Regions from separate parts of the Homo sapiens genome. Here all the other regions are linked to region 7. Evidence: promoter capture Hi-C in 16 types of primary human blood cells and fetal thymus (Javierre and others, 2016). All regions are on one chromosome and are shown on one strand. The core of a region is centred on a gene start or on the middle of the fragment in contact, and the rest is flanking DNA. Distances in the headings are between cores, read along the strand shown.

What was found. The method cuts DNA at HindIII sites, captures the fragments that hold promoters and counts their contacts. A CHiCAGO score of 5 or more calls a contact.
Region 1: a contact is called between a fragment that was not itself captured here and the fragment with the promoter of COL28A1 in region 7, in 9 of 17 cell types (naive B cells, total B cells, naive CD4 T cells and 6 more). The highest score is 19.5, in naive B cells.
Region 2: a fragment that was not itself captured here is called in contact with the fragment with the promoter of COL28A1 in region 7 in 3 of 17 cell types (total B cells, naive B cells and non-activated CD4 T cells); the score reaches 6.0 in total B cells.
Region 3: a contact is called between a fragment that was not itself captured here and the fragment with the promoter of COL28A1 in region 7, in 1 of 17 cell types (non-activated CD4 T cells). The highest score is 5.2, in non-activated CD4 T cells.
Region 4: a contact is called between a fragment that was not itself captured here and the fragment with the promoter of COL28A1 in region 7, in 1 of 17 cell types (naive B cells). The highest score is 5.9, in naive B cells.
Region 5: a contact is called between a fragment that was not itself captured here and the fragment with the promoter of COL28A1 in region 7, in 1 of 17 cell types (naive B cells). The highest score is 5.1, in naive B cells.
Region 6: a contact is called between a fragment that was not itself captured here and the fragment with the promoter of COL28A1 in region 7, in 4 of 17 cell types (total B cells, naive CD8 T cells, total CD4 T cells and 1 more). The highest score is 7.2, in total B cells.

Annotation. Positions count from the first base shown.
Region 1 is chr7:7,164,274-7,166,973 of GRCh38, forward strand. It overlaps a transcript of C1GALT1 not described here. Among named protein-coding and RNA genes, the nearest start is that of C1GALT1, 17 kb to the right of the region's middle. The HindIII fragment of the contact is 190 bases long and covers 1,309-1,498 here.
Region 2 is chr7:7,260,435-7,263,134 of GRCh38, forward strand. The region is part of intron 2 of LINC03016 (long intergenic non-protein coding RNA 3016); the gene reads left to right. Among named protein-coding and RNA genes, the nearest start is that of LINC03016, 6.6 kb to the left of the region's middle. The HindIII fragment of the contact is 2,167 bases long and covers 364-2,530 here.
Region 3 is chr7:7,143,120-7,145,819 of GRCh38, forward strand. No RefSeq gene overlaps it. Among named protein-coding and RNA genes, the nearest start is that of C1GALT1, 38 kb to the right of the region's middle. The HindIII fragment of the contact is 189 bases long and covers 1,277-1,465 here.
Region 4 is chr7:7,209,684-7,212,386 of GRCh38, forward strand. All of the region lies in intron 1 of C1GALT1 (core 1 synthase, glycoprotein-N-acetylgalactosamine 3-beta-galactosyltransferase 1), which reads left to right. Among named protein-coding and RNA genes, the nearest start is that of C1GALT1, 28 kb to the left of the region's middle. RefSeq lists enhancers at 1-301, 302-872, 873-1,444. The HindIII fragment of the contact is 1,305 bases long and covers 687-1,991 here.
Region 5 is chr7:7,192,303-7,195,002 of GRCh38, forward strand. All of the region lies in intron 1 of C1GALT1 (core 1 synthase, glycoprotein-N-acetylgalactosamine 3-beta-galactosyltransferase 1), which reads left to right. Among named protein-coding and RNA genes, the nearest start is that of C1GALT1, 11 kb to the left of the region's middle. The HindIII fragment of the contact is 6,809 bases long and covers 1-2,700 here.
Region 6 is chr7:7,227,917-7,230,782 of GRCh38, forward strand. All of the region lies in intron 1 of C1GALT1 (core 1 synthase, glycoprotein-N-acetylgalactosamine 3-beta-galactosyltransferase 1), which reads left to right. Among named protein-coding and RNA genes, the nearest start is that of LINC03016, 26 kb to the right of the region's middle. The HindIII fragment of the contact is 2,026 bases long and covers 428-2,453 here.
Region 7 is chr7:7,534,618-7,537,317 of GRCh38, forward strand. It overlaps COL28A1 (collagen type XXVIII alpha 1 chain), which reads right to left and starts at 1,256. Exons shown (of 35, transcript NM_001037763.3): 1 at 1,133-1,256. The HindIII fragment of the contact is 1,663 bases long and covers 1,028-2,690 here.

The DNA of each region.
Region 1 (2,700 bases), core at 154-2,653, 370 kb before region 7:
CTGAAACTGGATCCCTTCCTTACACCTTTCTTCATTTCTCATGTGGAACATTAATGTTAACGGGTCTATGATGTATGAAGAGCTAACTCTAAGTAAGCAGAAGTAAGTCAAATTCTATAACCTATTGATCTGAGATACCTAAAAAGGAGCTTGGATTTCAGGAGGATTGGGATACAGCTCTCCTCTTGCTTTACATTTTGCCATAGGCTGGGTTTTCCAGAAAACAGACTCTGAAATGGAGATCAGCATGTAGAAAGTTTATTAGGGAAGACTTTTAAGATCAGCACCTGTGCATGGAAAGAGACAGAAGCAGGATTGGACAGTGGGAAAAGTTGAGCTGTGATATAGTCTTAAAGTCCTCAGTCAACCCGACGAGGAACTCTGAAGGTGGAATGGCCCTAAAGAGTATCACAGGTCAGGGAAGGAAAGCTCTATTTTTAATACCCCTATGTTGATCAGTCATTGGATGTGGGTGCCTGAGGGGGCATGGCTTTAAGTTGTTTGCACCTGAGGCAGTTCCCTGAGAGGGCTGTAAGCTGAAGGTCATCTGCTGGCAGCACTCCCAATAGTTGTGGAAATAAATCTTTCTGTCCTGAAGGAGGAACAGGGCAAACCATTACAGTGTTCACCTTGGGTTTGCTGCCTTTGATTGCATGTAAATATTATTTTGTATTATTTAAGATGTGTAGGGTGAGTAAAATGCCCTAGAAACCCTAGGAAAGATTAACCTTGCCTGTCAACTTTATTCATTTATGTGTTTCTTTTAGATTTGAAAGCCTCAGAGAAGGACCAAACAGTGCCTGAGAAGTTTGAATTTAGAATAAAAGGTTGGTCTGGCATTTTTATGTGAACAGAACTAGAAACCACAGTAGCCAGGAAGAGAAGATGGCCAGATAACTGAAAGACAGAAGGCAGGTTAGGAAGGAGCTCAGGCCAGGTTGTGCCCACCCATCTGTGTTAGAAGATGGTGATCCTTGTGCAAGCAGATATGGAACTAAATAAAGCCCCTTTACTCACTGTGGTGGGATTATGTGGAATAAAGCACGCATCTAGGAGCCTTGACTATTTTTCCATTGCTTCCTTTTACATAATTATACCCATTTAATTTATCCTTTAATTTTTGTGAATGCATCACTCTATTTCAGTTACGCTAAGGGAATAAGAAAAAAATTGTGTCCATATTTGGATTAAAGAGAAAAGACAAACATCATATCCATGGGGTGCAGATGAGACAGGTGTAGGAGAAATCAAAGTGAGAAAGATTAAGAGGACGTTTCAGTGTAGGAAGCTCTAGATGCAAGAATTCAAAGCTTTCAAGACAGGAAGAAAGAGTCCAGAAAGGCATGTACTGCTATATCTTTTCTCATTTCCTTCTCCGATATGTTCCCTTTCAGGAGAAAAAAAAATGAATAGTTGTAAGCACCAATTTATGATCACATGGTACCAGTTGAGCATCTGTAATCCAAAAACCCAAAATCTGAAATGGTCTAAAATCCAAAGCTTTTTGAGCATCAACATGATGCTACGAGTGGAAAATTCCACACCTAATGTTATGTGATGAGTCACAGTCAAAATAGAAAAACTCATTTCATGCACAAAATTTTTGAAAATATTGTATAAAATTACCATCAGGTTATGTGTATAAGGTGCATATGAAACATACATTTCATGTTTAGACTTGGGTCCCATCCCAGAGATATTTCATTATGTATATGCAAATATTCCAAAAGTTCAAAAACTCTGAAGTCCAAAATACTTCTGGTCCCAGGCACTTGAGATAAGGGACACCTGTACCAGGCGTGTTCACGTTCTCTCATTTACTGATAACAACCATGTGAAAAAAACGTATATTACTGCCATTTTATCATGAGAAAAACCAAGACTCAGGGAGAATAATTAGGTTTCCTAAGCCCACACAATAAGTGATGGAACTGGGAAGAGAGTGTAGCACAGGTTTAGGGTGAGAAACAATTGGATTAAATGTCCTTCAGTATTTGAATGAATACAAAAATTGTGGTATATTCTTATAATAGAATATTACTGAACAATAAAAAGTAATAAACTATTGATAAACATAACAATATGGTTTAATTTCAAAGTAACAATGCCAGTGAATAAAACCAGATATGAAAAAGCACATAATGTATGATATCATTTTTATAACTCTAGAAAATGCAAACTAATCTCTATTGACAGAAAGCAGATCAGTGGTTGCTTGGAGATGGGGCAGGGTGGGAAGTGGCAGGAGGAAACTTTTGGAGGTGATAGATACATTCATTATCTTGACTGCGGTGATAGTTTCATGGGTGTATACATATGTCACAACATCAAATTATGCACTTTATGTATACTTATTGAATGTCAATTATACCTCAATAAAGCAGTTAAAAACAACCGGGTTGAAATCCGTGTTATACTATTTACAAATTGCTTAATCTCTAAGACTACATTTTTTAAAAATCAGTTAAATGGAGTTGCTAATGCCTACCACAGAGGGTTGGTGTAAACATTAAATCAGTAAGGCAAGTGCTTAGCACACTGTGTAATACAATAGTAAGCATGCCGCAGTAGTTATACAAGGAGTCCTAGACTGAGTTCTTCCTTCTTAGAGCTTTCTCCACTTTAACTAATCATGTTAGTCCTTTTTATTTACAGCTGGAATTCAAACACATCAATCTTACTTCAAAGACCAAGATCTTT
Region 2 (2,700 bases), core at 197-2,696, 270 kb before region 7:
CCTGACCTAGGGTTTGGTTTTTTTGAAGTCTGTCATTAACCCTTCCCTCACTTTCCTTCTACTCTTCAAGTCCTATTACATTCATAGGAATGACTGATTTGCCCCCAGGTATTTTGCTGGTCCTGGGATCGCAGAGAGGAAAAGATACAATCCTGCCCGCAGGAACTCAGTGTATAGAGATGGCTTCTCCAACTTAACTATTACAGAGGGCTGATAATACTTTTCAGACATGTCGATCCAAAATGACCAATTAAGGATAAGGACTTGGAAGTAAAGAACATAACTCAAAGACAACAAATGCCCATTCACCAAAGATAAAGCCATGAACTGTCCAGGGCAAACGAGCTCGCCTTTTGGAGGCTAAGCTTCTTGTGGGAATTTGTAGAGTTTGGGGGAGGTCACTCAGTAACTTCTGTAATGAAAAGTTTTGTGGCAGCCAAGTGCAGTGGCTCACGCCTGTAATCCCAGCACTTTGGGAAGCCGAGGCGGGTGGATCCCTTGAGCCCAGGGGTTTGAGACCAGCCTGGGCAATATGATGAAACCTCATTTCTACTAGAAATACAAAAATTAGCCAGGCGTGTTGGCACACAGCTATAATCCCAGCTACTTGAGTGGCTGAGGCATGAGAATCAGTTGAGCCTGGGAGGTGGAGATCGCAGTGAGCCAAGATCGTGCCACTGCACCGCAGCCTGGGCAACAGAGCGAGACTCTTGTCTCAAAAAAAATAAAGAAGTTTTATTGGTAGTATTTGTTCTCTGTTAAGCCCATCTGTTGAGTTCTTGATTTCATTTATCAAGTTTTTCAATTCTAGAATTTCCATTTGGTTATTTTTTATATTTCCAGGTCTCTGCCAATGTCCTCAATCTTAATTTTTATTTCCTTAAACATTTTAAGCAAATCATTATAGAATCCATGTTGGATAGTCACATTATCAAGATCCCCTATTGGTCTAGGTCTATTGTCTGTTATTTTTTTGGTATTCAGTTACATTTTCTAGTTATTTTTGGTTGAATTCTGTCTTTGGCAAGAATATGTCAGTCACCTTTTGAATAGGATGAATGAATCTGTTACACCTTATGGAAGCCATAAAATCTATGCTGCCCCACATGGTGGCAATGGTGTATATACAAATGAAAATCTAAGAACCCCACTGACCTTCTGCTGACCAACATCGTAGTGAGGTAAAGAAGTCTCAGAGTTTAGCAAAGTATTATCCTTAAAGAATCAAATGAGATTGTAACCAGTTCATCTTGCCTGCTGCCCAGATACAGCCAATTTGTAAAGACAGGGAAGTGCAATAGAGAGAGATTTTAATATGCATAGAGCCAGCTAAATAGGAGACCAGAATTTTACTATTATTTAAATCAGCCTCCCCAAAAATTTGGAGGCTAGGATTTTTTAAAGACACTTTGGCAGGCATGAGTTAGTTCCTGGGTAGGGGCCACAAGACCAGATGAGTTGGTTTACCATTCTGGGTGGTGCCAGCTGATCCATCAGAATGCAGGGTCTAAAAGATATCTCAAGCACCAATCTTAGGTTTTATAGTAGTAATGTTATCTATAGGAGCAATTGGGGAGGTTAGTAATCTTGTAACCTCTGGGTGCATGACTCCTGAGTCATAATTTTTAATCTTATGGCCAATCTGTTGATTTTACAAAGGTGGCCTGGTCCCCAAGATACATTTTACCCAAGATGTAATATCACAGGAAACCAGAACCTTCCACTCAACCTCTCATACACAACTGGCTTTGTTAGTTTCCCACCACATTCAAGAGCACCTGATGCCCTAAACTGTTTAAGGTTGAATTAAGGAGTGCTCTTTTCAAACTATCCCAATTTCCATGAAAACCAAAGACAGCAGAAGACCTAGAAAATATTTATAGAATTGGGTATCTTGGGACATGAAACAAGTGGATACTTACATATGTGAATCTCACATGTCTTAATATCCAGACTAATTCCACCTTGACCTATTCTTACATACTATCTATTTTTCTCTTGGGAAGTTTTCTAATACTAGCTTAGCATCAGCATGTCTGTTTCAGTGAAATTAACACGTTAAAATATCCCCACTGGAGGTCAGTGAGTCAGGGCACATGCTGCTCTACAGAGGGGCCCAGTTACAACCTAAGGAGTAGCACTTCATCAGAGCTACCTCTTCAGGCCACATTCCCCACTACCTCAACCAACTGCTCCTCAGAAGAAGTAAGATGGATTTGTGGGAAATGATTTCCTTGAGCCATTTTTCCAAAGATAGTGGGGCATTCTTAAATGGTATTCATTTGAACATGGTATTCATTTGAACTTTGACATAATGCCATTATTTTGTAAATGCCATATCCTGGATAGCTAACTATGGCTGACAATCTACCCCTCATCATGACTGTGCTCAAATGCAGATATCTCTAGTGCATCATTGAACGAAAGGAATTTCACACACTTAAGCCTCTCTGAAATTTTCATCTTTCAATTGTTCACTTTTGTAACTTTTTTGTGGGGATGAAATTGACACTTTAAAAAGAAAAATTGAAGCTTGTGATGGGATTCTAAAATCTAAAAAATTTCCTTTCCAATCATATTTTAAACTGTTAGATCGTTTGCCCATTTATTGTCAATTTAACATGAAAACAGACACATGTGCACATGGACACATACACACAGGCACATGTGTTGAAGGCCTCTAGCAAGGTTGATGAGACT
Region 3 (2,700 bases), core at 121-2,620, 390 kb before region 7:
AAGTCCTGGATATCCCTGTTAACCTTCTGTCTCATTGATCTGTCTAATATTAACAGTGGGGTGTTAAAGTCTGCTATTATTATTGTGTGGGCATCTAAGTCTCTTTGTAGGTCTCTAAGGACTTGCTTTATGAATCTGGGTGCTCCTGTATTGGGTGCATATATATTTAGGATAGTTAGCTCTTCTTGTTGAATTGATCCCTTTACCATTATGTAATGGCCTTCTTTGTCTCTTTGGATCTTTGTTGGTTTAAAGTCTGTTTTATCGGAAACTAGGATTGCAACCCCTGCTTTTTTTTTTTTTTTTTTTTTTTTGCTTTCTTTTTGCTTGGTAGATCTTTCTCCATCCCTTTATTTTCAGCCTATGTGTGTCTCTGCATGTGAGATGGGTCTCCAGAATACAGCACGCTGATGGGTCTTGACTCTTTATCTAATTTGTCAGTCTGTGTCTTTTAATTGGAGAATTTAGCCCATTTACATTTAAGGTTAATATTGTTATGTGTGAATTTGATCCTGTCATTATGATGTTAGCTGGTTATTTTACCCATTAGTTGATGCAGTTTCTTCCTAGCATTGATGGTCTTTACAACTGGGCTTTTTTGCAGTGGCTGGTACTGGTTGTTCCTTTCCATGTTTAGTGCTTCCTTCAGGAGCTCTTGTAAGGAGGCCTAGTGATGACAAAATCTCTCAGCATTTGCTTGTGTGTAAAGGATTTTATTTCTCCTTCACTTATGAAGCTTAGTTTGGCTGGATATGAAATTCTGGATTGAAAATAGTTTTCTTTAAGAATGTAGAATATTGTCCCCCACTCTCTTTTGGCTTGTAGGGTTGCTGCCAAGAGATCTGCTGTTAGTCTGATGGGCTTCCCTTTGTGGGTAACCTGACCTTTCTCTCTGGCTGTCTTTAACATTTTTTCCTTCATTTCAACCTTGGTGAATCTGACAATTATGTGTCTTGGGGTTGCTCTTCTCAAGAAGTATCTTTGTGATGTTCTCTGTATTTCCTGTATTTGAATATTGGCCTGCCTTGCTAGGTTGGAGAAGTTCTCCTGGATAATATCCTGAAAAGTGTTTTCCAGCATGGTTCCATTCTCCCTGTCACTTTCAGGTACACCAATCAAACATAGATTTGGTCTTTTCACATAGTCCCATATTTCTTGGAGGCTTTTTTCATTTCTTTTTACTTGTTTTTCTCTAAACTTCTCTTCTCACTTCATTTCATTAATTTGATCTCAATCACTGATACCCTTTCATCCACTTGATCAAATCAACTACTGAAGCTTATGCCTACATCACATAGTTCTCGTGCCATTGTTTTCAGCTCCATCAGGTCATTTAAGGACTTCTCCATACTGTTTATTCTAGTTAGCCATTTGTCTAATCTTTTTTCAAGGTTTTTAGCTTCCTTGCAATGGGTTCAAGCATCCTCCTTTAGCTTGGAGAAGTTTGTTATTACCGACCTTCTGAAGCTTAATTCTGTAAATTCGTCAAAGTCATTCTCCATCCAGCTTTGTTCCATTGCTGGTGAGGAGCTGCGATCCTTTGGAGGAAAAGAGGTGCTCTGGTTTTTAGAATTTTCAGCTTTTCTGCTCTGGATTCTCCCCATCTTTGTGGTTTTATCTACCTTTGGTCTTTGATGATGGTGACCTACAAATGGGGTTTCGGTGCAGATGTCCTTTTTGTTGATGTTGATGCTATTCCTTTCTGTTTGTTAGTTTTCCTTCTAACAGTCACGTCCCTCAGCTGCACGTCTGTTGGAGTATGCTGGAGGTCCACTCCAGACCCTGTTTGCCTGGGTATCATCAGCAGAGGCCACAGAACAGCAATATTGCAGGACAGCAAATATTGCTGCCTGATCCTTCCTCTGGAAGCTTTGTCTGTGAGGGGCACTTGGCTGTATGAGGTGTCAGTCAGCCCTTACTGGGAGGTGTCTCCCAGTTAGGCTATACAGGGTTCAGGGACCCACTTGAGGATGCAGTCTGTCCATTCTCAGAGCTCAAACACTGTGCTGAGAGAAGCACTGCTCTCTTCAGAGCTGTCAGACAGGGACGTTTAAGTCTGCAGAAGTTTCTGCTGTCTTTTTTTCAGCTATGCCCTGCCCCAGAGGTGGAGTCTACAGAGGCAGGTAGGCCTTGTTGAGCTGCAGTGGGCTCCACCCAGTTCGAGCTTTCCAGCTGCTTTGTTTACCTATTCAATCCTCAGCAATGGTGGCTGCCCCTCCCCCAGCCAGGCTGCCTCCTTGCAGTTTCATCTCAGACTGCTGTGCTAGCAGTGAGCAAGGCTCTGTGGGTGTGGGACCCACTGAACCAGGCACAGGATATAATCTCCTGGTGTGCCATTTGCTAAGACCATTGGAAAAGTGCAGTATTTGGGTGGCAGTGTCCAATTTTCCCGGTAGAGTCTGTCACGGCTTCCCTTGGCTAGGAAAGGGAAATCCCCCAACCCCTTGTGCTTCCCAGGTGAGGTGATGCCCCGCTCTGCTTCGGCTCGCCTCTGTGGGCTGCACCCACTGTCCAACCAGTCCCAGTGAGATGAACCAGGTACCTCAGTTGGAAATGCAGAAATCACCCATCTTCTGCAACAATCATGCCGGGAGTTGCAGACTGGAGCTGTTCCTATTCAGCCATCTTCAATGTTTTCCTGACGTTCCCTCTGTTTTAATCTTCACAACAAAAAGTCACCTGCAGCCAGGTGCGGTGGCT
Region 4 (2,703 bases), core at 89-2,588, 320 kb before region 7:
GATAAAGCAGTATAATTTTCTCCCAACCTTGGGTATTGTAGAACCTTTCACTCACGTCCGTGTGAAGAGACCACCAAACAGGCTTTGTGTGAACAATAAAGCTTTTTATTTCACCTGGGTGCAGGCGGGCTGAGTGCGAAAGGAGAGTCAGCGAAGGGAGATGGGGTGGGGCCGTTTTATAAAACGGCCTATTTATAAAAATAGGATTTGGGTAGGTAGTGGAAAATTACAGTCAAAGGGAGTTGTTCTCTGGCGGGCAGGGGCGGGGGACACAAGGTGCTCAGTGGGGGAGCTTTTGAGCCAGGATGAGCCAGGGGAAGGAATTTCACAAGGTAATGTCATCAGTTAAGGGAGGAACAGGCCATTTTCACTTCTTTTGTGATTTTTCAGTTACTTCAGGCCATCTGGATGTATACGTGCAGGTCACAGGGGATATGATGGCTTAGCTTGGGCTCAGAGGCCTGACAGAACCTGTTGAGGTTGCAAAAAATATTTGTGACTCTTGGAACAGTAACAAAAAGTTGTTCTGACTTTTTATTTTCTGAACCTGGAATTGTGGGACTATTTTAAAGGGTATAATTTCAACTGGAGACTTGGGGAGCTTGATTTTGACTTGATTGCGAAGCATCTGTATAGCTCATGTTGTATGTCCAGTTTATGGCTTTGTATTATAGAAATGTATTTAAAGCTTCAAATGATGAGACCATGCATAATTTCATGGTGGGCAGATTCTTTTTTTTTTTTTTTTTTTTTGGTTTTAAGGAGCGGAGAGTTTAATAGGCCAGACAGAAGGGAGAAGGCAGAAGGAAGAAGCTCCCCCGTACAGAGACAGAGGGAGGGAGGCTCCAAAGCCAAGAGAAGGGATCCCCAAGTGCGGTGGACACCAGCCAGGTATATATGCAGAGGCTGGAGAAGGTGGTGTTCGATTTGCATAGGGCTCCGGGGATTGGGTTGACTAGGCGCATCATTCACATAGCTCATGAAAAAGCTGGCTCTTCCACCCTGGTCTTTTAATATGCAAATACATGGCGCCATGATGTTCTACGCTCGTCGGGATTCCAGGAACATGTAGGGCAAGGGCAAGAAGGCTGTGGGAATCTCCATGTTTGGGTGGACCCAGTTTCTAATGGCCTAAATTTGCATATGAAAGGTTGCTGGCCTGGCTTTAACAGCCGTGGCTTTACAAGAAACTTTTCTGGAGATGCTTTAAAAAATGAAAACTTTCCAAGGACCCCTTTTTCTTCTCTGCCTAAAATAATTTCTTAATAACTCCTACAACATTCCCGCCTGTGGAGATGCCACACTAACTGCTGTTAGAGGGTTTTGGGCAACAACTCCTTCTGGCTACTTACTGCTGAAAAGGGGCATCATATGGGGAACAGCAACTAGGGCTCCTCCTGGGGTTGATCTAAGGATCCTCGGAAGAATGGCATGTCCATGTGTGGATCAGTTTGCAGCACCATTTGGAGATTGATTGCTTCTAGGTGAGAGTTACAGTATTGAGTATACAGGGCCCAGATATCAATACAAGACATATAAACAAGAGAAGGCTTAAAAAAGGAGTTAACCAATTCCTTAAGGAAGACTGGAATGTATTAAAGAAGAATTTGTAGCCACCCGGGGCTGAAGCTGGCGTTTTCCCTGAGCCTGTCAATAATTTTGATTTGATCTTTAAGTACCTGTAGATTTTTCTCTACTTTACTAGAGGTGTTAATCACCCCTAAACCCAAAAAAAGTCCTAGCAGACTCAGTGATAGTAAAACTTTCATGCTTCCTTGTCAGTAACTATTATTCCTGCTCTAAGGATAATAATTAAGCAAAATACAACAGCAATGGAAACTCTGTCCAATATTTCAGTTAGAAGGTGCTACCGTGTGTATCCCTATTGCAAACAGTAGAGTGAGTATAGCAGTTCCCACAAGTGTGGTGTAGTAGATAATTTCCATCTAAAATTTTACTTGCCAAGATAATTTCCCTTTGGTGGTCTATGAAGCTTTGGTTTTATTTTCCTAAACAAAGAAACCTTCGGGTTATGGATACCCTACTTACTTTTATTACCTGGCAGAATTTGCAGGATAATTTCCCACAATTAGTATAGTGATTCAGATTTTTACATTACCCATCCCTTTTTCTTTCTTCCAAGCTGCAGAAGATTACCACTTGAGTCACAGGAATAAGCAGGGTTAATTTAAAATGTAGGCAAAAAGCTTAAAAACAATTAATGAGACTAGGATTTAATGACAAATGTATGATAAGCTTTGGAGCAAAATTTTCTCTCCAGTTCTCATTTTTGGTAAAAGCTAATTGTGAATGAACTTTAGTCTTATACTTGGCCTGATTATTTGCATGAAGTGTTAGCAAGAATGGTTATTTCTACATAGGTCTTTTGGATGGCTTTGATAAAACTCAGTTCCACAAGGAATCTTAGATAAGACCTTTAAAGCCTAGGCCAGCAATGGGTTTCTATCCTCAAATACCTGTGAGTTAGGTGATCCTCTCTTCTTGAGGTCCCAAGAAACTCGGAGCTTCCAGACCTGTTAGAAAGTGACGTTCTTTACTGACCACAGGTTAGGAGCCCTGTGCGGGGACTGTGTAGACAAGGTATGATGCCAGTTCTCCCAGGGGCTTTTTATTGGCTCTGCGTGTCAAGCTTGATTCCTTAAAGGGAAACACACCCTTTCAGTCAAAGCCTTGGTATAATAA
Region 5 (2,700 bases), core at 75-2,574, 340 kb before region 7:
TTACTTCAAGTTCCCAAAGTCCATTGTATCATTCTATGCCTTTGCATCCTCATAGCTTAGTTCCCATTTATGAGTGACAACTTACAATGTTTGGTTTTCCATTCCTGAGTTACTTTACTTAGAATAATGGTCTCCACCTCCATCCAGGTTGCTGTGAATGCCATTATTTCATTATTTTTTATGGCTGAGTAGTATTCCGTGGTGTGTGTGTGTGTATATTATACATACCACATTTTCTTTATCCACTTGTTGATTGATGGGCATTTGGGTTGATTCCATATTTTTGCAGTTACAAATTGTGTTGCTATAAATGTGTGTTCAAGTGTGTTTTTCGTATAATGACTTCTTTTTCTCTGGGTAGATACCCAGTAGTGGGATTGCTGGGTCAAATGTTAGATCTACTTTTGGTTCCTTAAGGAATCTCCACACCATTTTCCATAGTGGTTATACTAGTTTACATTCCCAGCAGCAGTGTAAAAGTTTTCCCTTTTTACCACATTGATGCCAACATCTATTATTTTTTGATTTTTTGATTATGGCCATTCTTGCAGGAGTAAGGTGGTATTGCATTGTGGTTTTGATTTGCATTTCCCTGATAATTAGTTGTGTTGAACATGTTTTCATATGTTTGTTGAACACTTGTATATCTTCTTTTGGGAATTGTCTATTCATGTCCTTAGCCCACTTTTTGATGGGATTGTTTGTTTTTTTTCTTGCTGATTTGTTTGGTTTTTTTGTAGATTCTGGATATTAGACCTTTGTCAGATGCATAGTTTACCAAGATTTTCTCCACTCTGTGGGTTGTCTGTTTACTGATTATTTCCTTTGCTGTGCAGAATCTTTTTAGTTTAATTAAGTCCCATCTATTTGTCTTTGTTTTTGTTGAATTTGTTTTTGGGTTCATGGTCAGGAAGTCTTTGCCTAAGCCAATGTCTAGAAGGGTTTTTCTGATGATATCTTCTGGGACTTTTATGGTTTCAGGTCTTAAAAGATTTAAGTCTTTGATCTAATCTTGAGTTCATTTTTGTGTAAGGTGAGAGATGAGGATCCAGTTTCATTCTTCTACATGTGGCTTGCCAGTTACCCCAGTACCATCTGTTGAATAGGGTGTCCTTTCCCCACTTTACGTTTGTGTTTGCTTTGTCAAAGATCAGTTGGCTGTTAAGTATTTGGCTTTATTTCTGGGTTCTGTATTCTGTTTCATTGGTCTATGTGCCTATTTTTATACCAGTACCATGCTGTTTCGGTAACTATAGCCTTTTAGTTTAGTTTGAAGTCGGGTAATGTGATACATCCAGATTTGTGGGTTTTGGGGGGTTGTTTTTGTTTTTGCTGAGTCTTGATTTGGCTATGTGTGTTCCTTTTCAGTTTCATATGAATTTTAGGATTGTTCTCCCTAGCTCTGCAAAGAATGATGGTGACATTTTGATAGGAATTACATTGAATCCGTAGATTGCTTTTGGCAGTATGATCATTTTCACAATATTGATTCTACCCATCCATGAGCATGGAATGTGTTTCCATTTGTTTGTGTCATTTTCAATTTCTTTCAGCAGTGTTTTGTAGTTTTTCTTGTAGATGTCTTTCACTTCCTTAGGTATATTCCTAAGTATTTTATTTTTTTTTTGCAGACATAGTAAAAGAGTTTGAGTTCTTGATTTGATTTGCAGCTTGGTTGCTGTTAGTGTATAGCAATGCCACCGATTTGTGTACATTAATTTTGTGTCCTGAAACTTTACTGAATTCATTTGCCAGTTCTAGGAGCTTTTTGGATGAATCTTTAGGGTTTTCTTGGTGTATGATCATATCATCAGCAAACAGCAACAGTTCGACTTCCTCTTTACTGATTTGATGCCCTTTATTTCCTTGTCTTGTCTGATCCCTCTGGCTAGGACTTCCAGTACTATGTTGAATAGAAGTAGTGAGACTGGGCATCCCTGTCTTGTTCCAGATCTCAGGGGAAATGCTTTCAACCTTTCTCCATTCAGTATAATGTTAGCTGTAGGTTTGTCATAGATGGCTTTTATTACCTTAAGGCATCTCCTTTCTATGCCAATTTTGCTGAGTGTTTTAATTATAAAGGGACACTGGATTTTGCCAAATGCCTTTTCTGTGTCTATTGAGATGATTATGTGATTTTTGTTTTTAATTGTTTATGTGGTACATCACAATTATTGACTTGGGTATGTTAAACCATCCCTGCACGCCTGGCATGAAACCCACTTGATAATGGTGTGTTATCTTTCTGATATGCTGTTGGATTCGGCTAGCTAGTATTTTGTTGAGGATTTTTGCATCTATGTTCATCAGGGATATTGGCCTGTAGTTTTCTTTTTTTTTGTTATATTATTTACTGGTTTTAGTATTAGGGTGATACTGGCTTCATAGAATGAATTAGGGAGGGTTTCCTCTTTCTCTGTATTGTGGGATAGTGTCAATAGGATTGGTATCAGTTCTTCTTTGAATATTGGATAGAATTTAGCTGTGAATCCATCTGATTCTGGACTTTTTGTTTGTTGGCAGTTTTAATTACCATTTCAGTCTTGCTGCTTGCTGTTGGTCTGTTCAGAGTTTCTATTTCTTCCTGGTTTAATCTAGGAGGGTTGTATGTTTTCAGGAATTCACCCATCTCCTCTCGATTTTCTAGTTTGTGAGCATAAAGGGGTTCATAGTAGCCTTGAATGATCTTTTGTATTTCTG
Region 6 (2,866 bases), core at 191-2,690, 310 kb before region 7:
TCTTTATAAATTACCCAGTTTCAGTTGTTCTGTTATAAATACCAGAAAATGGACTAAGACATAATAGCAAAGTGGTTAAGAGTCTGAATTCCTGATTCAGATTGCTAGTGTGACTCTCTGTGTCTGAATTCATCTGTAAATGGGAATACTAGTCCGTACTTTATAGTTTGCAGATGCTCTTAGTACAGGGTTCAAATGTTAACTGTAATTACCTCTCCTATTTTTGTTATTGCTAGAGAGAAACCTGTAATGATAATCACAAAATATTAATAATTGTTGTTTCTGGGTAGTAGGACTTGTGATGATTTCTTCCTTCTAAATCCTTTTTTAACAATGAATAGCATAAAGCTGTCCCTTTAAAAATAAAATTAAAATATAAATTTTAGTTGTCCCGGGAGTTCTTTTGTATCTGAAACCTCAGTTGTCAAGCTTGGAAATCTGTACTTTTAAAATATCCTCAAGCGATTCTGATTACACATCAGGTTTGGAAGCACTTGGCATAAAGAACTTCCCCCACCCAATTCAAAGAAATAGTATTTAAGCCCTCATAATGTGCAGTGTGGTTAAGCTGTGTCTTTTTCCAGTCTAGTCTACCTCAACACTCTTGTGGACATGATTTTTGCCAAAAATCTGAGTGAGCTTTGGGATGCATTCTACCCCCATGAGATGGCTATTTTATCCCAGGAGCAGGAAAAAAAAAAATGGGAGTTTACAGTTATTTAGTCATAAGGCCGGAGTCCTTTAAATTGGAAGGGAATGTGGTAAACACAACACAAGAGGAGCCAACACATTCTGAGTGTGCTGATACTCTGGGGGAGAAGAGTAAGAGAGTATGACAGGCATCAGACAGCATCACAAAACATTTTAAAGTTAAAAACAATTACGTAACACCAAGAAGTCAGTTTTCCTTACATTCACTCCAGGATAGATGCCTTGCTTAAAAAGTGCCTCTTCAGCTAAGAAAAACTGTGTCCATAAGTACTTCAGTAGCTTTCCACAAACAGTAACTGTTTTTGTGTTATAGAAGTAGGCTTGTTCTGAAGCTCAGCATGTCCTTGGAATATGATTGAGTAGCATGTTAGTATTCATAGTTGATGGAGCTGGGTTAGCACTTCTTTAACTTCAGATATCCATATGATGATAGAAATAGGAATTTTCTCTGGTCCTGCAGTCCTTCCTCTTCTCAGTCACAGTGCTTTCTGCCTAAGTGGTACTGAATGGCATTGTGACTACTGCTTTCTTCTCCAGTGCCAGGAGCGGTAGACTCTGCAGCAGTAAAATACTGTCTTTGTTCTTTTCTGAGATGGTGAAGTGGCTGTGTATGGTATTAAGGCAAAATCACAGCTAGGACAAAAAGCAATGGAAAACCAAGATCAGTGTGCTGTAAGGCAAAGTGTTAGTGAGAGAATCAGAGGATGTAGAGAGTGACAACTCAGTATCTGCTAATGCTCCAGGTTCACTGCTTCAATCGTATTCTGCTTGTCTTCCTCCATAAGAAATTAAGAGTTAAAACATCTTTCATTTACTTCTCTTGGCTTCATGTTTTCAATTCATGGTACTTTCATATCACATACCTCTATTGTAGATTGTCTTGATCATGTATACTGCTAAAGGAAGGACTTGTATAATATCGAACAGATACTTGACTAATCAGTTCTCTCTGGCTGTTTGAATGAAATTTCAAACCAAGATTTCTGGTTAGAGCAAGGTCTAATGAACTGGTCCTCAGACAATCGAGATATTTAGAATTTCAGAACAATCACTTAAGACAGGAGGGATATGTTTTATTGTATCTTTTGGATATAAAGATTACACTAACGGCCAACCTGAATGAGGGAAAGGGGGCAGTAGGGAGGCAGAATTTGAGACCCCCTCATCAGAGAAAACAGCAGAAAGACATGGTAAACTTGTTTCTGGTTTTCCTGTGGCAAATTTGATTGGGTGTAGAGAGAAGGATCGTTGAGTGGGGCTATGTACTCATCATCCATGAAGGCCTACCTTTCTGAACTTGAAGGTACAGTCAGGATAGAGCAAAAGGTGTAAACATGTATCTGATAGTTTCAGATGGTTAATTTACATCTCAAGATACTGGGCAGCTTTGCTTATACTGTGCTGTTCCTTCACCTCTCCTCTTCCTCTTAGGGTTTTTCTTCCCAAACTGGAATTACAATTCAGGAGAGAGCCTGAAATATAAGATATATAATGCAGCATAAGCATGGTGTGTTGTCATGGCATGTCAATTTTACTTGTAGATTTTGGGATATTTTTATATCAAATATGAATATATTAAGTATGTACTTAATGGGATAAAGACACATGAATGGGTTTTTGTATACACTTTTTACTGAAATAAATGTTAATACAGAAAAGTATGTAAAATCATAAATGTAGAGCTTAATGAATGTCACAGAGAACAAGCCATGTAACTACTAGTTTTTTTTGTGGTATCAATAAGCTTTCCTTTAATTACTGTTTGTATGGTATATTTTTCTATTATTTTGCTTTCAACTTTATAAATCTATTTAATATGTGTCTCTTGTAAGCTGCATGTAGATGAGTTTATTTTTCTCGAGTCTGGCTGGCAATCTTTATTTTTTAATTGTAGTTTTTAGTCTATTTGCTTTTAATATAATCATTGATATGTTTGGTTCTAAATCAACCACCTTACTATTTATTTTCTATTTGTCTCATCTATTCTATATTCCCTTTTTTTTTTTTTTTTTAACATTGCCTTGATTTGGGGTATTTTCCCATTTCATTTTTTTGTATTTGAATTTAATTATATTGTTTTACTGTTTGTTTGTTTAAAGATTATATTAGACATCCTTGGTCTTTTAAAGGCTATTATTAATCAGTTTTTTTTTTT
Region 7 (2,700 bases), core at 6-2,505:
CATAATCAAGCAACTCTTCAAAACCCTTCATGTAAGGTTTTAGAAATACTGGCTTTAAATAAAGATTTATCTTTTCCCAAAACTAAGCACCTGCTCTTACTGTTTTCTTGGCATATAATCATGAATTTGTACCTGATCCCTGTATATATGATATTCACAAACATAACTTTTCCATTGACAATAATCCCAGTATCTCATATTTTGTTCTTATTTGCTCTGACATTGTTAATCTAGCTCTCCCAAACCAAAGTCTTGTTATTTCTTTCTGTTTCCCTATTGTAGCCAGAGGACATTTTCATACCTCTCTAGATTTGTTTCTCTAGCTTGTTAGTTCTACTGCTTCCCTGAAATATCTTTCTCGTTTATTAATTTGGCATCTTGAGAGCCCACTCATTTCTAATCACTTTTTACCATGTTTTATTTTGCCTCTGTTTTTAATAATTCTCACCTTTCTCTCTTTCTGATGTCACGTACAAGCAAAATAGGTTTCAGAGGAAACAGTGCCATTAGTTAAGTGAAAGAAATGTGAACCTCTGTGTTTACTATAGGTTACATTTTATAAATGCAGAAACAATCATAATTATTAATCAAATACCGTAGTTTTACTTTTGGCCTAAAATTTATTTGGGGTAAATATCAGGATCAGTAAATAAATCCAAGATACTTTATTTTTTATAATTTTTCAAAAATAAAATGATCTTATATCAGAGTTCACCAACTTTAGTTACAATGTTTGCATCTCAGTTTCTACACAAATAGAAAATGATTGAATAAAGACTTTATTCAAATTGACAAATTAGCCAAGTTGTAAAGTATTCTATAACTAATTCTGAATTGTAAACCCTGTTCCAAATTAAGAAAAAGATGTCCTAAAATATATTAACATCGTTGTAAAACAATTTAGAAGACTGTAAATTAAAAATCCATTTCAAAATAATTTTAAGTTTTAAATTTCTACATTTTAACAATGTTAATATTTTTCTAATAATTGATTTGAAGTAATTGCAGAGAATACAAACTATTGACAAGCTTTCTCACCTAATAATTATGTAAGTAAGTCATTTAGTCTTCCACAGTTCCTTGATGGTCCTATCTGATTTCAAGTGACTAAAATAAATCTGTTATGTCTTACCTTATAAAGTTTGTCAAACAGGAATTAAAGACTAGTTGAGTAAATGCCAACAGCAAGGACTGTGGTTGGGGGTGAAGTTAGCTATTTGATATTGTTCTGTTCTGTGGGAAATAAAAGTGTCTTTGCTTTAGGATCTTTTGCAGTCTTTTGTTCATGTTTATTCGACTAAGTCAAAGCAAGAGTGGTCAGGCATTTGGCCAGGGTGCAAGATCTGGGTGGGATCAGTAAGCAATTTAAAGGAACAGTGTCCTTTCAGAATGAGACTGTGTTTTCCAGACTATTGTAAAAACAACTTGAGAGAACTTTCTACATTTTAGGCATTGGTTGACAGCCTGCCTTTTTTTCTCATGCTATGTCCTTCTCTTTTTATTGCTACATTTCTTTGCCTGGGGGATGTGCTCTAAGATACTGGTTCTGAACATCTCTGTGAAGGAGTATAAATGACACCAGACTCAGAATCAAAGCTGTTTTTTTAAGAGAGGTAACAGTTTGATTGTTATTAAAGCTGGATGATGAGTACATAGGTGTGCATTGTTCTAGTCTTTGTATTTCTGTGATTTTTGAAATTTTTTATAATAAAAGGTATATATAATATACAGGGAAAGAGTGGTCTGAGTATAGTCATAGTTCTGCCCCTAACTTTTATGGGGGCTTCAGTTCCCCACTTATGAAATGAGAGAGTAGATTTAATCATTTATTAAGATGTGTTCGAACTGTAACATGAGAGGTTTACAGCGGTTAATATTTTGGTCTCTCTCTAGGAAAGGATCACTGTGGTTTTTCCACTCCCTGTTTCCCTATTTTCTACCTTGTGGTTATGGTCCATATTAAGTCAATGTTTATCATGTAATATATACTGCCAAGAAGCCACCTGACCCCTAGACAGCTAACAGGCAGGCTTCTCCACGGACTTCCTCTGAAATAGAGAATAGCAAGATCATCCGAGAAAGCAATACAAATGTGCATGTTACGGTTATTTAAAATGAACTTTCTTAGCCATTTTAATGTGTATGAATTTCCTTATTACAGCAATAATAGCCTCCAATTCATGGACACTTACCAGGTGCTAGGCACTGTCCTGAGTGCTTCACACACATTACCTCATTTAATCCTTCACAAGCACAACCACCTATATACAGTAAGTCCTCACTTAATGTCCTCTGTAGGTTCTGGAAACTGTGACATAAAGTGAAACAATTGATAATGAAGACAATTTTCCCAAGAGCTAATTGATATAAATAAGAGTTAAGCTCTTATGGCATATTCCTAGTCACAAAAACATCACTAAACCTCTAAATACTCAAAACACCTCTAATAATAAACATTGAAATAAATCTAAGCTATATATACATTTATGAAAGATTGATAAAAACAAGATAACTGCTTACCTGCATATTCCAGTTCAGGGTCACGGTTGACCAGATCCTGTCCCAGCAGCTGAGGATACAAGGCAGGAACCAGCCCTGGACAGGATGCAGTACTGTCAAAGGGCACTCATACACCCACCCACTCTCTCAGACAGGCACCATGTAGACACACCAATGCATCTAATGGGCAAAGCTTTGGGA